Regions from separate parts of the Homo sapiens genome. Here regions 1 and 3 are each linked to region 2. Evidence: promoter capture Hi-C in human tissues and cell types (Jung and others, 2019). All regions are on one chromosome and are shown on one strand. The core of a region is centred on a gene start or on the middle of the fragment in contact, and the rest is flanking DNA. Distances in the headings are between cores, read along the strand shown. Region 1 overlaps LOC124902693. Region 2 holds the start of RELA (RELA proto-oncogene, NF-kB subunit). Region 3 overlaps FOSL1 (FOS like 1, AP-1 transcription factor subunit).

The links. The method cuts DNA at HindIII sites, captures the fragments that hold promoters and counts their contacts. A contact is called where the count stands out against the background at its distance.
Region 1: a contact is called between a fragment that was not itself captured here and the fragment with the promoter of RELA in region 2, in 1 of the 25 tissues and cell types used here (dorsolateral prefrontal cortex).
Region 3: a contact is called between a fragment that was not itself captured here and the fragment with the promoter of RELA in region 2, in 1 of the 25 tissues and cell types used here (dorsolateral prefrontal cortex).

Annotation. Positions count from the first base shown.
Region 1 is chr11:65,827,061-65,831,322 of GRCh38, reverse strand. It overlaps LOC124902693, which reads left to right. Exons shown (of 7, transcript XM_047427980.1): 1 at 1-25. Among named protein-coding and RNA genes, the nearest start is that of SNX32, 4.8 kb to the left of the region's middle. RefSeq lists a silencer at 3,171-3,465. The HindIII fragment of the contact is 5,096 bases long and covers 60-4,262 here.
Region 2 is chr11:65,660,933-65,664,165 of GRCh38, reverse strand. It overlaps RELA (RELA proto-oncogene, NF-kB subunit), which reads left to right and starts at 1,250. Exons shown (of 11, transcript NM_021975.4): 1 at 1,250-1,340; 2 at 1,961-1,987; 3 at 2,078-2,229; 4 at 2,331-2,479. The coding sequence starts at 1,334. It overlaps RELA-DT (RELA divergent transcript), which reads right to left and starts at 1,160. Exons shown (of 4, transcript NR_183625.1): 1 at 1,018-1,160. RefSeq lists an enhancer at 744-943 and silencers at 1,034-1,443, 1,504-1,563. The HindIII fragment of the contact is 29,460 bases long and covers 1-3,233 here.
Region 3 is chr11:65,893,246-65,897,214 of GRCh38, reverse strand. FOSL1 (FOS like 1, AP-1 transcription factor subunit) reads left to right here. Exons shown (of 4, transcript NM_005438.5): 2 at 209-406; 3 at 3,094-3,201; 4 at 3,919-3,969. Among named protein-coding and RNA genes, the nearest start is that of CCDC85B, 4.6 kb to the right of the region's middle. RefSeq lists enhancers at 2,881-2,990, 3,093-3,597. The HindIII fragment of the contact is 3,107 bases long and covers 1,000-3,969 here.

The DNA of each region.
Region 1 (4,262 bases), core at 1,358-3,857, 170 kb before region 2:
GCCATAATGGTGATTGTGTTTGTTGGTATGTCCTTCATTATTTCCTTTTCTTTTCTTTTCTTTTCTTTCTTTCTTTCTTTCTTTTTCTTTTTTCTTTTTTTTTTTTGAGACAGTCTTGCTCTGTTGCCCAGGTTGGAGTGTGCAGTGGCGCAATCTCGGCTCACTGCAACCTCTGCCTCCCAGGCTCAAGCGATTCTCCTGTCTCAGCCTCCCAAGTAGCTGGGATTACAGACATGTGCCACCATGCCTGGCTAATTCCCTCACTATCTTCTAACTTCCAAGTATTGCTATTTATAAGTCTTTTTGTTCTTTTCTTTTAATTCTATAGATAGTGTTTTTTTCTATGTAAATTACCTGTTTGCTACCACTCCCTAACTCAACCTGTATCCTCACCCCATTTTCTCTGGCCTTACTAGAGGATGTTAGACCTTGAATTATAGCTGTTATCTTTTTTTCTCCTTTTGCCCGTCTCTTTTTATTGTATTCTCTGGGCAATTTCATTAACTTTAAAACAATTGATGTATAGTAGATGTACGTATTTTGGGGGTACCTGTAATATTTTGATACATTCATATAATGTGTAAAGATCAAATCAGGGCAATTGGGATATCCATCATCTTAAATATTTATCTTTTCTTTATGCCAGGAACATTCGAATCATTCTCTTCTAGTGATTTTGAAATGTACAATAGATTATTGTTAACTACAGTCACCCTACTGATCTATAGAACACTGGGTCCCATTTCTTCCATCTAACTGTACATTTCTACTCATTAACATGTCTTTATTTCCTCCACCCTTCCTGGCCTCCAGTAACCACCAATCTCATCTCTATTTTCATGAGATCCACTTTCAACTTTATTAACTGTATCTTTCTTTCTTATTGAAATTTTACATTTTAACTCTCTTGTTCATTGATTGCTTTTTTTTTTTTTTTTGAGATGGAGTCTGGAGTCTTGCTCTGTCACCCAGGCTGGAGTGTAATGGCGTGATCTTGGCTCACTGCAACCTCCGCCTCCCCGGTTCAAGCAATTCTCCTGACTTAGCCTCCTGTGCTCACTGCATGAGCTGGGATTACAGGAATGCATCACCACACCCGGCTAATTTTTTGTATTTTTAGTAGAAACGGGGTTCCACCATGTTGGTCAGGCTGGTTTTGAACTCCTGACCTCAGGTGATCCACCCATCTTGGCCTCCCAAAGTGCTGGGATTACAGGCGTGAGCCACCGAGCCCGGCCGTGCTTCTTTTTTTATATATAGTATTTCTGTTCTTGTTTCATGAGTCTGTTCTCTTAGCTCTCCAAGGATTTTTCCAGTTTTTAAGTTTTCTTCTGCTTTTCTTATTGTTTCCCCTGAGTTCCCCTCCCCTGCTTCCCCCCGCTCCATTTTTTTTGTGTGTGTATTGTTGGAAGTTTTCCTCAAATGTTTGATCTTCGGCTGTCCATATTTAAGAATGAGGCATTAAGCAGAGGCAATTGGAAGCACAATTTGGGGCTTGTTGATCTATGGGCTTCACTCTGTGGCGACTGAAGCAAGCAGGATATTTTACTGGGTACACCCAAATATCAGAATCTGTAAATCTCACTGAAGGGACCGTCTGGTTTCTACAGAGAATTCTCCAATCTGTCTGGGGGATATCTGCATGGCCCCTGCTATAGAGGTTACAGCAGCAGGGTCAGGGGAGACGGTTGTGGAGCCACCGCTTGGTACATATGTTTTTACCCAGTCCCTTGTTTTCAGCTCAGTGCTCACTCCACCTTCAGCTGTGCCTGGTGTCCCTGAGTTGGTGCTTCTCAGATTCAGTTTCCCCAAAGAGTAAACCCTCTGCTGTGCTATGGGAGTTGGTGCCCAGCTAAAAAAGGTTGGGGAGGGGATTTGTAAGCTTAACTGCTTTATATACAGACTCCTAAATAATTTCTCTGTTCTCAGCTCTATGCCTTTTTCCTTCCATCTGAGCTATCTGGTCCCTCCATGTCCTGAACTTTTTTGGGGATAAGTAGAGTGAACTGTTAACTTTTCGTTTCTATTATCTTTAAGCACTTAAGTGCCAGCTGCCTCCACTCTGCCAAGTTGGTTACCACTCCATCTCCAAACTTTTTTTTTTTTTGTCATTGTTGTTGTTTTTGAAATAGGGTCTCACTCTGTCACTCAGGCTGGAGTGCAGTGGCATGATCATGGCTCACTGCAGCCTCAACCTTCTAGGCTGAAGCAATCTCCTCAGCCTCCCAAGTAGCTGGGACTACAGGTGTACACCACCACAAGAGACTAGTTTTTTTTTTTTTTTAAGTAGAGATGAGGTCTCTCTATGTTGCCCAGGCAGGTCTTGAACTTCTGGGCTCAAGCGATCCTCCTGCCTCTACCCGAAAGTGCTGAGATTACCGACATGAGCCACTGCACCCCGCCAACTTTTCCCATCTTAAAAAACAAAAACAAAAAACTTCTCTGTACCCTACATTTCCCTCTAGTACTGTCCCATTTTTCTTGCTCCTTAAGGTAGGCACAAAAGTGGTCCGCCAAAGATATATTCACTTCCTAATCCCAGGAACCTGTGAATATTACCTTAATATGGCAAAAGATGTAATTAAGTTAAAGATCTTGAGAGAAGGGCCCACTTTAGAGGTGGGTCGTAAATGCCATTACAAGTGTCCTTGTAAGAGAGAGGAAGAGAAGGAGAACAGACACACAGAGAGGAGGAGGCAGTGTGATCTCCCAGGCACAGGCTGGAGTTATGCAGCTACGAGTCAAGGAGTGCCGATGGTCGCCTGAAGTTGGAAGAGGCACAGAATGGATTCTTCCCCAGAGTCTCTGTAGAGAGTGTGGCCTCCGCCAACACCTTGGTTTTAGCATCTGACCTCTAGAGCTGTGAGAGAATAAACCTCTATTGTTTTAAGCCATCAGTTGCTGGTAATTATTATTATTTTTTTTGAGACAGAGTCTCACACTGTTGCCCAGGCTGGAGTGCAGTGGCGCGATCTCGGCTCACTGCAAGCTCCACCTTCTGGGTTCATGCCATTCTCCTGCCTCAGCCTCCCCAGTAGCTGGGACTACAGGCGCCCGCCACCATCCCCGGCTAATTTTTATATTTATTAGTAGAGACGAGGTTTCTCCATGTTGGCCAGGCTGGTCTCGAACTCCTGACCTTGTGATGTGCCCGCCTCAGCCTCCCAAAGTGCTGGGATTACAGGCATGAGCCACCACGCCCAGCCGTAGTTCGTTCATCTGTCTGCTATAGTTCCTGTAGTTCTGTAGTTCCAGTTCCTGGAAGTTGAGGCTAGAGGCCCTGGCTTCTCTTTCTCCATCACGTTCATCACCTTCTGACTCAGAACTTTCCTACTGTAGCTGTTTACATCTATCTGTCCTCACTAGGATGTAAATGAGCTCTATGAGGGCAGCAATATGTGTCAGTCTGGTTACCCTCTCTAGTCCAGTGTGTAACCAGCCCATAGTAGCACTCAGCATGTGTCTGCAGAATAAATCAACCCATCATATTCAGTGACTTCATCAGTCTCAGTACTATTTAATATCTATTGAGAAATTGCTATAATAATTTACCCTGTTTCTTAGAATGTCACATTTTTTGAAACCTCAAAAGCCTGAAACTGTCTTTGTTCCATACTTGTACTTGAGGTTTTTCTGGATATAGAGTTTCCCTCAGCAGCCTGAAGATGTGCGCCTTTGTTTTCTTCCTTTCTGCATGGCCATTGAGAGTCCAGATCTATTTCTAAGCTGAGCCAGTTGCACAACCAGGCGTTCTGTGTATGAGATCTGTTTGCTTCTCCCCAGCTCCGCTATTTCTCCTTCTTTATTGGGCAGAAGCTGATAGCTTGCTCTTTCATTTTCTAGGAACTCTGATCCCATTGTTAGACAATAAAGTGGAGATATTAATAGGGAGTGGGCAGAGTTGTAAAGATAAGCTATAGATGGCTCAAGCCTCATGGTAGGATCTTCTTGACAAATGATTATAATAGCTAACATTTACTGAATTCTTGTAATAATCAGGGTAATTTAATCAGCACCATGCTAAGCACTTTACATGTTCTCTATAATTTAGTCCAATAGCTCTTTGAGATAGGAACTATTACTCTATCGACTCTACCCAGTAGACACTGCCAGAGCCAGGCACAGAGTCCAGGCAGCCTGACTCCAGAGCTGAGCTGGAAACCGCTCTGTCTGCTGAATGGCCTCCTCTATTCCTACCAGACAAGCCCTGAACCTTGGCTTCCTCACCTGCCAAAGCAAGGCCTGGGATCCTGAATGGGGGT
Region 2 (3,233 bases), core at 1-2,500:
GTCACCTGAAGTCGGCCTCCCCCGCCCCCTGCCAAAAGTAAACACTTTTCTAATCAGGGCCAGCCACTGGAGAAACTGAAATGAGTGGGCGGGGTGCTAACTCTATTTTCACTTTTCTCTTCCTGTTTCTTCAGAGCCTGGGAAACAAGTCAGAATTTCCAATCTTTTCCAATTCCCACATGATTTCCTAATTTAAGACGAATTCAGAGAAAATAAAAAAGTCTTTCTCCATCTGGAGAAGACTCCGCCCCCTGCAGTGGAGCATCCTCCTTTGGGGATGAGGCCTGGGGTGGGGGTGCGTCAGCCCCAGCCTCCACACGGACGCGCCTTGGGCTTGGTCTTGGGGGAGCTACCTGCACTGTGGGGTCACATGACAGAATTAGTGGTCAGCCCTAGCTGGAGGTCCAGGGCAAACACAGGCGGGGGCAGGGGGGTGGGGGGTCGTGAGCCTGCTGATTCAAGTGTCCCTGTGGGTCCCGCACCTTCTGAGACACAAGCGCCAGGCTTCAGAGACGAGGCTCCGGGATTTACCCCTGGGGGCCTCCTGCTCCCACAGCCGATGAGAGCCGGCAGTTTGGCTGTATCGTAAGCTGGCGCTTTAGCTGGAGAGGGACGAGCCCTCGGCCAGCTCGCCAGCGGGAGGGCCTCAGTCGTCCCATCCGGGCTGTAGGCTCCGCAAAGCTCTTGATGCACTGTCAGGCTGGGAGGTCCGGCCGCTCCCATTCCCCCACAGCCGCATCTAGATTGGGGTGGGTAGGACATTTTAACGTGCTTCTGAGACAGCCACCACCGAAAGGCACCTTTAGCGGTTAGGAAACCCGCGCGGAGTTCAACCACCCGGCCTCTGCGGAGCAGAAGGCCCGGTCGGGCTTTTCCCTGCGCGGGGCGGGCGGCCGCAGCCCAGTAGCCCTGGCTTTGCTCCAGACCCGGCCCAGAGTGACATCACCAAACTCCGCCGATCGGCGGGAGGGGGCCCTGAAATCCCCTAAAAACAAAGTGAGTAATCGGCGGACCCACCCTCCAGGCGGGGCCGGGACCCGGGAGCTAGCCGAGCCACCGGGCACGCCAGCCTCTTCGTCCTCGGCGAGGCGCGCACTTGGCCCCGACCCCCGGCAGCGGCTGTGCGTGCAGCCTCTTCGTCCTCCGCGCGGCGTGCACTTGCTCCCGGCCCCTGCGCCGGGCGGCGGCGGGGCAGCGCGCAGGCGCGGCCGGATTCCGGGCAGTGACGCGACGGCGGGCCGCGCGGCGCATTTCCGCCTCTGGCGAATGGCTCGTCTGTAGTGCACGCCGCGGGCCCAGCTGCGACCCCGGCCCCGCCCCCGGGACCCCGGCCATGGACGGTGAGGTCGCCCTCTGACCCCGCGGGGTGGCATCGCCGGGGCCGCCGCGGCTGTGGCGGGAGCCCCCGCGCCGCTTTCCGCCCCTTCCTGCGCCGACGGGCGCTGCGCAGGGAGCGGTCGGCCTGCCGGATGGTGGCGCGGGGCGGGGCAGGCGGGGAGGGGTCTGACTCAGTTTCCCCTCTGGGTGGAGGGGGTGGCCCTTGACTCAGCATCCTCCCTGGGTGGGGGAGCAGAGGGAACCTTGACTCAGTTTCCCTCCACACCGTCCATGGGGGCAGCTCTGGCTTCGTTTCCCTATTAGGGGAGAACGCATCTGATTCAGTTTCCTCTCTGGAGGGAGGTGGGGCGTGCCCTCCCTCAATTTTCCTTAAGAAAGTACAACAGGCCCTGATTCAGCTTCCCTCTGGAGAAGAAGGATTCCTTACCCCGTTTTCCCTCAAGAAGCAGGTGTTTCTGGTTCCTTTCCTCCACCCCTTAGTTTCACCGCAGGTTCTAGGGAGCAGGTCCTGACTCAGTTCCCCTGGGAGGGAGCCTGGCTTCTCCTCTCCGTGGAGAGCAGATTCCTCCTTGTGAGAATGGGCATTGGGTGTGTGCTGACCCTGATCTCCCTCCCCTTTCAGAACTGTTCCCCCTCATCTTCCCGGCAGGTAAGTGGCCCCCGCGGCGGTCGGGGAGGTGCTCCCTGGGGTAGGGCAGTGGGGGCAGCCGCCTAATGGGGCTGCGGTGTCCCCTGGCAGAGCCAGCCCAGGCCTCTGGCCCCTATGTGGAGATCATTGAGCAGCCCAAGCAGCGGGGCATGCGCTTCCGCTACAAGTGCGAGGGGCGCTCCGCGGGCAGCATCCCAGGCGAGAGGAGCACAGATACCACCAAGACCCACCCCACCATCAAGGTCAGCACTGCGCCAGGGTGTGCGGGGAAGGGACTGTGGAACCCCAGCCCTCTGTGTTTGGGAGTCAGGTTTGGATGTCTGGGCCTCTGTACTTTGGACAGATCAATGGCTACACAGGACCAGGGACAGTGCGCATCTCCCTGGTCACCAAGGACCCTCCTCACCGGCCTCACCCCCACGAGCTTGTAGGAAAGGACTGCCGGGATGGCTTCTATGAGGCTGAGCTCTGCCCGGACCGCTGCATCCACAGGTGAGGTCCCTGCAGGCTAGGAGGCCCAGCATGAGGGGACAGGAGGCGGGCTATGAAGTAGCCGCTACAGTGTTACTCCTTTCTGGACCCAGGGCAGAATTCCTCACTCCTTGCCCTGACTCAGCTCTGCAAGTAAACTGCCTTTGTCTTGAAATTATCTATTTGTACGTTTACTCTAGCAGATGAGTTCCAGGGGATACGGATGGGTCCCTAATCACTTCTGAATTCCTGACCCCTGTAGCTGGAAGGACAAGTCCCTCAGAGTCACGTCTCTTGTTTGAGGAAGAAAACCATTGAACCAGCACTCTCCCCTGGAGTTGACATTGCAGTTGACAGAGACAGGCTGTAAAAAAATATACAGGCCGGGCATAGTGGCTCATGCTTATAATCCTAGCACTTCGGGAGGCCAAGGCAGGAAGATCTCTTGAGCCTAGGAATTCAAGACTAGCCAAGGCAACATAGTGAGACCCCATGTCTACAAAAAATAAGAAATTAGCTGGGTATGGTGGCATGCGCCTATAGTCCCAGGGAGGCTGAGGTGGGAGGATCGCCTGAGCCCAGGAGGTCACTGCTGCGGCAAGCTATGATTGCACCACTGCACTTGGGTGGCAGGGCGATACCTTGTCTTTTTTTTTTTTTTTTTTTTTTTAAGAAAGAGTCTTGCTCTGTCCCCAGACTGGAGTGCAGTGGCGCGATCTCAGCTCACTGCAACCTCCACCTTCCGGGTTCATGCCATTCTCCTGCCTCAGCTTCC
Region 3 (3,969 bases), core at 1,304-3,803, 230 kb before region 2:
ACAGAGAGGTTATGTGACCTGCCCCAAAGCCACACAGCTTATGAGCAGGGATTTGCCACCAGGTCAGTCTCTGACTGCCAAGCTGTGCTCTTTCTGTTCCCAGAGCTAGCCTGTACATTGAAGGTAGACAGCAGTGTAGCCTCTGCCCAGTGGAAGCCCCTCAATCCACACGGACCTCATCTGTGGCCTTCCATTTCTTATTCCTTAGAAGTTCCACCTGGTGCCAAGCATCAACACCATGAGTGGCAGTCAGGAGCTGCAGTGGATGGTACAGCCTCATTTCCTGGGGCCCAGCAGTTACCCCAGGCCTCTGACCTACCCTCAGTACAGCCCCCCACAACCCCGGCCAGGAGTCATCCGGGCCCTGGGGCCGCCTCCAGGGGTACGTCGAAGGCCTTGTGAACAGGTAAGGCACAGAGGCATTGCAGTGGTTCCGACCCCGCCCAGGAGTGCTAGGGTGCAGAGAAGCTCCTGCCAGAAAGGAGAGCACAGGCTTAGGAGGGGGTAAGGTAGGCTACAGGTGACTACTGCCCAAGGCTGAAAGTGATAGGAGCCCCACGGGAGGCCCAGAGGGTACAACAGTCACTTCCAGATCAGGGAAAGCTTCCTGGAAAAGGTGGCATATTAGCCTAGAAGGATGGGTAGGACTGGCAGAGGCAGAGAGGAAGGAAAGGACATTCCAGGTAGCGGGGGTGGCAGGAGCAAGGATGGAGGCGGAGGCAAGAACATGTAAGGTGCGCACACGGAATGGTGAGGGGGTCTCCACCTGCTGACATGCATAGAGGGGGCGCTTATGTTGTCTGGGAGAGAACAGGAACAAGAGGGTTCCCTTCAGCTACTCCCTCAGTCTCAGTTTCCCTGTCTCATTTAATCCTCACAAAATCTCTCTGGGGAATGTACTCTGGTTTTCCCCATCTTCCACCAAAGAAATGAAGGCACAGAAGGGTAGTCACTTGCCCAAGATCACACAAGTAGTGAGTAATGACACAGGACTGGCCTTGGCCCCAGGTCTATACAACTCTAAAGTCAGATCCTAACCACCAAACCAGGGCCAGGTGCAGTAGCTCATGCCTGTAATCCCAGCACTTTGAGAGACCTAGGCAGGAGGATCACTTGAGGCCAGGAGTTCAAGACTAGGTTGGGCAACATAGAGAGACCCTGTCTCTACCGAAAAAACAAAATAAAATAAAACCCCCAAAACTAATCACCAAGCCACGCTGTCTCACTGGAAGCTAACAGAAGGCTCAAAGTAGAGGGAACTGACAATTCTTGGCTCCCCAAAGCCCTTACCAAAATAAGTGAGTAAGAGATGGCGAGTCTTTAAAGGAGTGGCTCATCTTTCCTCTCCCTGGGGCATTTTGGTGTGGGAGACTACAGGGGATGAGGTTAAAAAGCTTGGTCGGCAGGTAGAGGATGGGGAGAGAGGTTAGGGCCCTGGGAAAGGTGAGAGATCAGCCAGAGACAGGTTTCCCAGAACAGAATGTCTGGCCTTTGTGGTGAGGAGGGACTGTGGTATGAGCCGCAGAAGCGGGCCAGGGGTAAACCCTCCTGTGCGTCCTTCCTTCAGCCTGGTCCTGAGGGTGACCCTTTGATCCTGGGTTCTCCAGGTAGGGCTGTGAGCTGTGAGTTGGATCCTTTTGGTGAAATGGTCTCTCTCATCTGGCCTGTCACTCAATGTGGAATAGAGTGAGTGAGTTCTATGGGTTCTAAGTCCTGCTCTGGAACCATAAGTAAGTTATCCTCTCTGGGCTTCAGTTTTTCATGGAAAGTTGCGTTAAGAATCTAGTTTAAGGCCAGGCATGGTGGCTCACGCCTGTAATCCCAGCACTTTGGGAGGCCAAGGAAGGTGGATCATGAGGTCAGGAGATCGAGACCATCCTGGCTAACATGATGAAACCGTGTCTCTACTAAAAAATACAAAAAATTAGCTGGGCGTGGTGGAAGGCACCTGTAGTCGCAGCTACTCGGGAGGCTGAGGCAGGAGAATGGCGTGAACCCCGGAGGCGGAGCTTGCAGTGAGCCGAGATGGCACCACTGCACTCCAGCCTGGGCAACAGAGTGAGACTCCGTCTCAAAAAAAAAAAAAAAAAAGAATCTATGTTTTTTTAAAAAAGAGGCCAGCTGTGGTGACTCCCCCTGGTAATCCAAACATTCTAGGAGGCCAGTGCAGGAGGATCCCTTGAGCCCATGAGTTCCAGACCAGCCTGGGCAACACAGTGAGACCCCGTCACTACACAAAAAAAAAAAAGAAAAAAAAAGGCCGAGCACAGTGGCTCATGCCTGTAATCCCAGCACTTTGGGAGGCTGAGGAGGGTGGATCACCTGAGGTTAAGAGTTCAAGACCAGCCTGGCCAACATGGTGAAACCTCGTCTCTACTAAAAATACAAAAATTAGCCAGGTGTGGTGGTACATGCCTGTAATCCCAGCTACTTGGGAGGCTGAGGCACGAGAATCACTTGAACCCAGTAGGTGGAGGTTGCAGTGAGCCAAGATTGGGCCAATGCACTCCAGCCTGGGAAAGAGTGAGACTCTGTCTAAAAAAAATAAAATAAAATAAAATAAAATCTTTGCATGTTCTCAGTGAAAAACAAGAATCTACGTAAAGTACTTGGCTGGCACATAGTAGTTTTCCAATAAATTGCAACTTAATCAGCAGCACTCATTAGCCCCTCCTAGTGCTTACAGCTCATGGAAGAGGAGACTTGGTTGTCCACAGATCCAGAAGGATGAGGGTCCTGCAAAGAGGGTGCTGAGAAGGAAAGGTCACTTCTGGCTGGGGAATAAGACGGCTTCCTGGAGGCAGGAGCATCTTAGTTGAGTCCTGGGAGATGAGGAGGGTTAGGGTTTGCGGAGGGGGAGGGCATTATGGGAGAGGAATGTGCACTAAAGCTAGGTGCGAGGAGGAAATTTTACCAATCAAAGCAGACAGCGCCTCAGTGCAGGGAACTGGTTGGGTGCAGTGATCCCTAAATCACCGGCTGAGGGGGCCCTGCCATGACCTCTGCCAGGGTCCTACCACTGGGCCACCATGAGGGGCGAGTTCCAGGCAGCCAGTAGCCCAGGGTCCTCCTCACTGCGGGTCTCACCCCCAGATCAGCCCGGAGGAAGAGGAGCGCCGCCGAGTAAGGCGCGAGCGGAACAAGCTGGCTGCGGCCAAGTGCAGGAACCGGAGGAAGGAACTGACCGACTTCCTGCAGGCGGTGAGCACCAGCCCTGGTCCACCGAGCTCAGAGGGACCCTGTCTCCCAGAGCCCCCAGAGCCCCAGTATATGTAGCCCCCTCCTCACCATCCTAGCTCCTTGTCTGAGGGGCAGTCCTTCTGGGAAAATGATGAGGAAAAATTGATTAGAAACTGGCTGCAGCATGTCTCACTCACAGCAGAGCTGAAGCTCAGCCAGCAATCTCCTTTTTTTTTTGAGACAGAGTCTCGCTCTGTCACCCAGGCTGGAGTGCAGTGATGAGATCTCGGCTCATGGCTCACTGTGACATCTGTCTCCCAGGCTCCAGCAATTCTTATGCCTCAGCCTGCTGAGTACCTGGGGCTACAGGCGCCTGCCTCCCTACCCGACTAATTTTTGTATTTTTAGTAGAGACGGGGTTTCGCCAAGTTAGCCAGGCTGGTCTCAAACTCCTGGTCTCAAGTGATCCGCCCGCCTCAGCCTCCCAAAGTGCTGGGATTACAGGCCGGAGTCACTGCCTGGTGCCAGCAATCTCCTAAAACGTCTGGGCCTGATGGGAGTTGTGCCCATTTTCTCCCAGGGGCTTATGGGAGTTGTAGTCCAGACTTGCTGGGGACTCTCCACTGCCCCCCCTCTCCCCCCGCCCAACCCCAGCTCCTCAGAACCCTGAGTCCAAACGTCTGCGGCTCTGGGGTATTCAGCCCTCACCTTTCTGACTCCTCTCCTGATCTTCTACAGGAGACTGACAAACTGGAAGATGAGAAATCTGGGCTGCAGCGAGAGATTGAG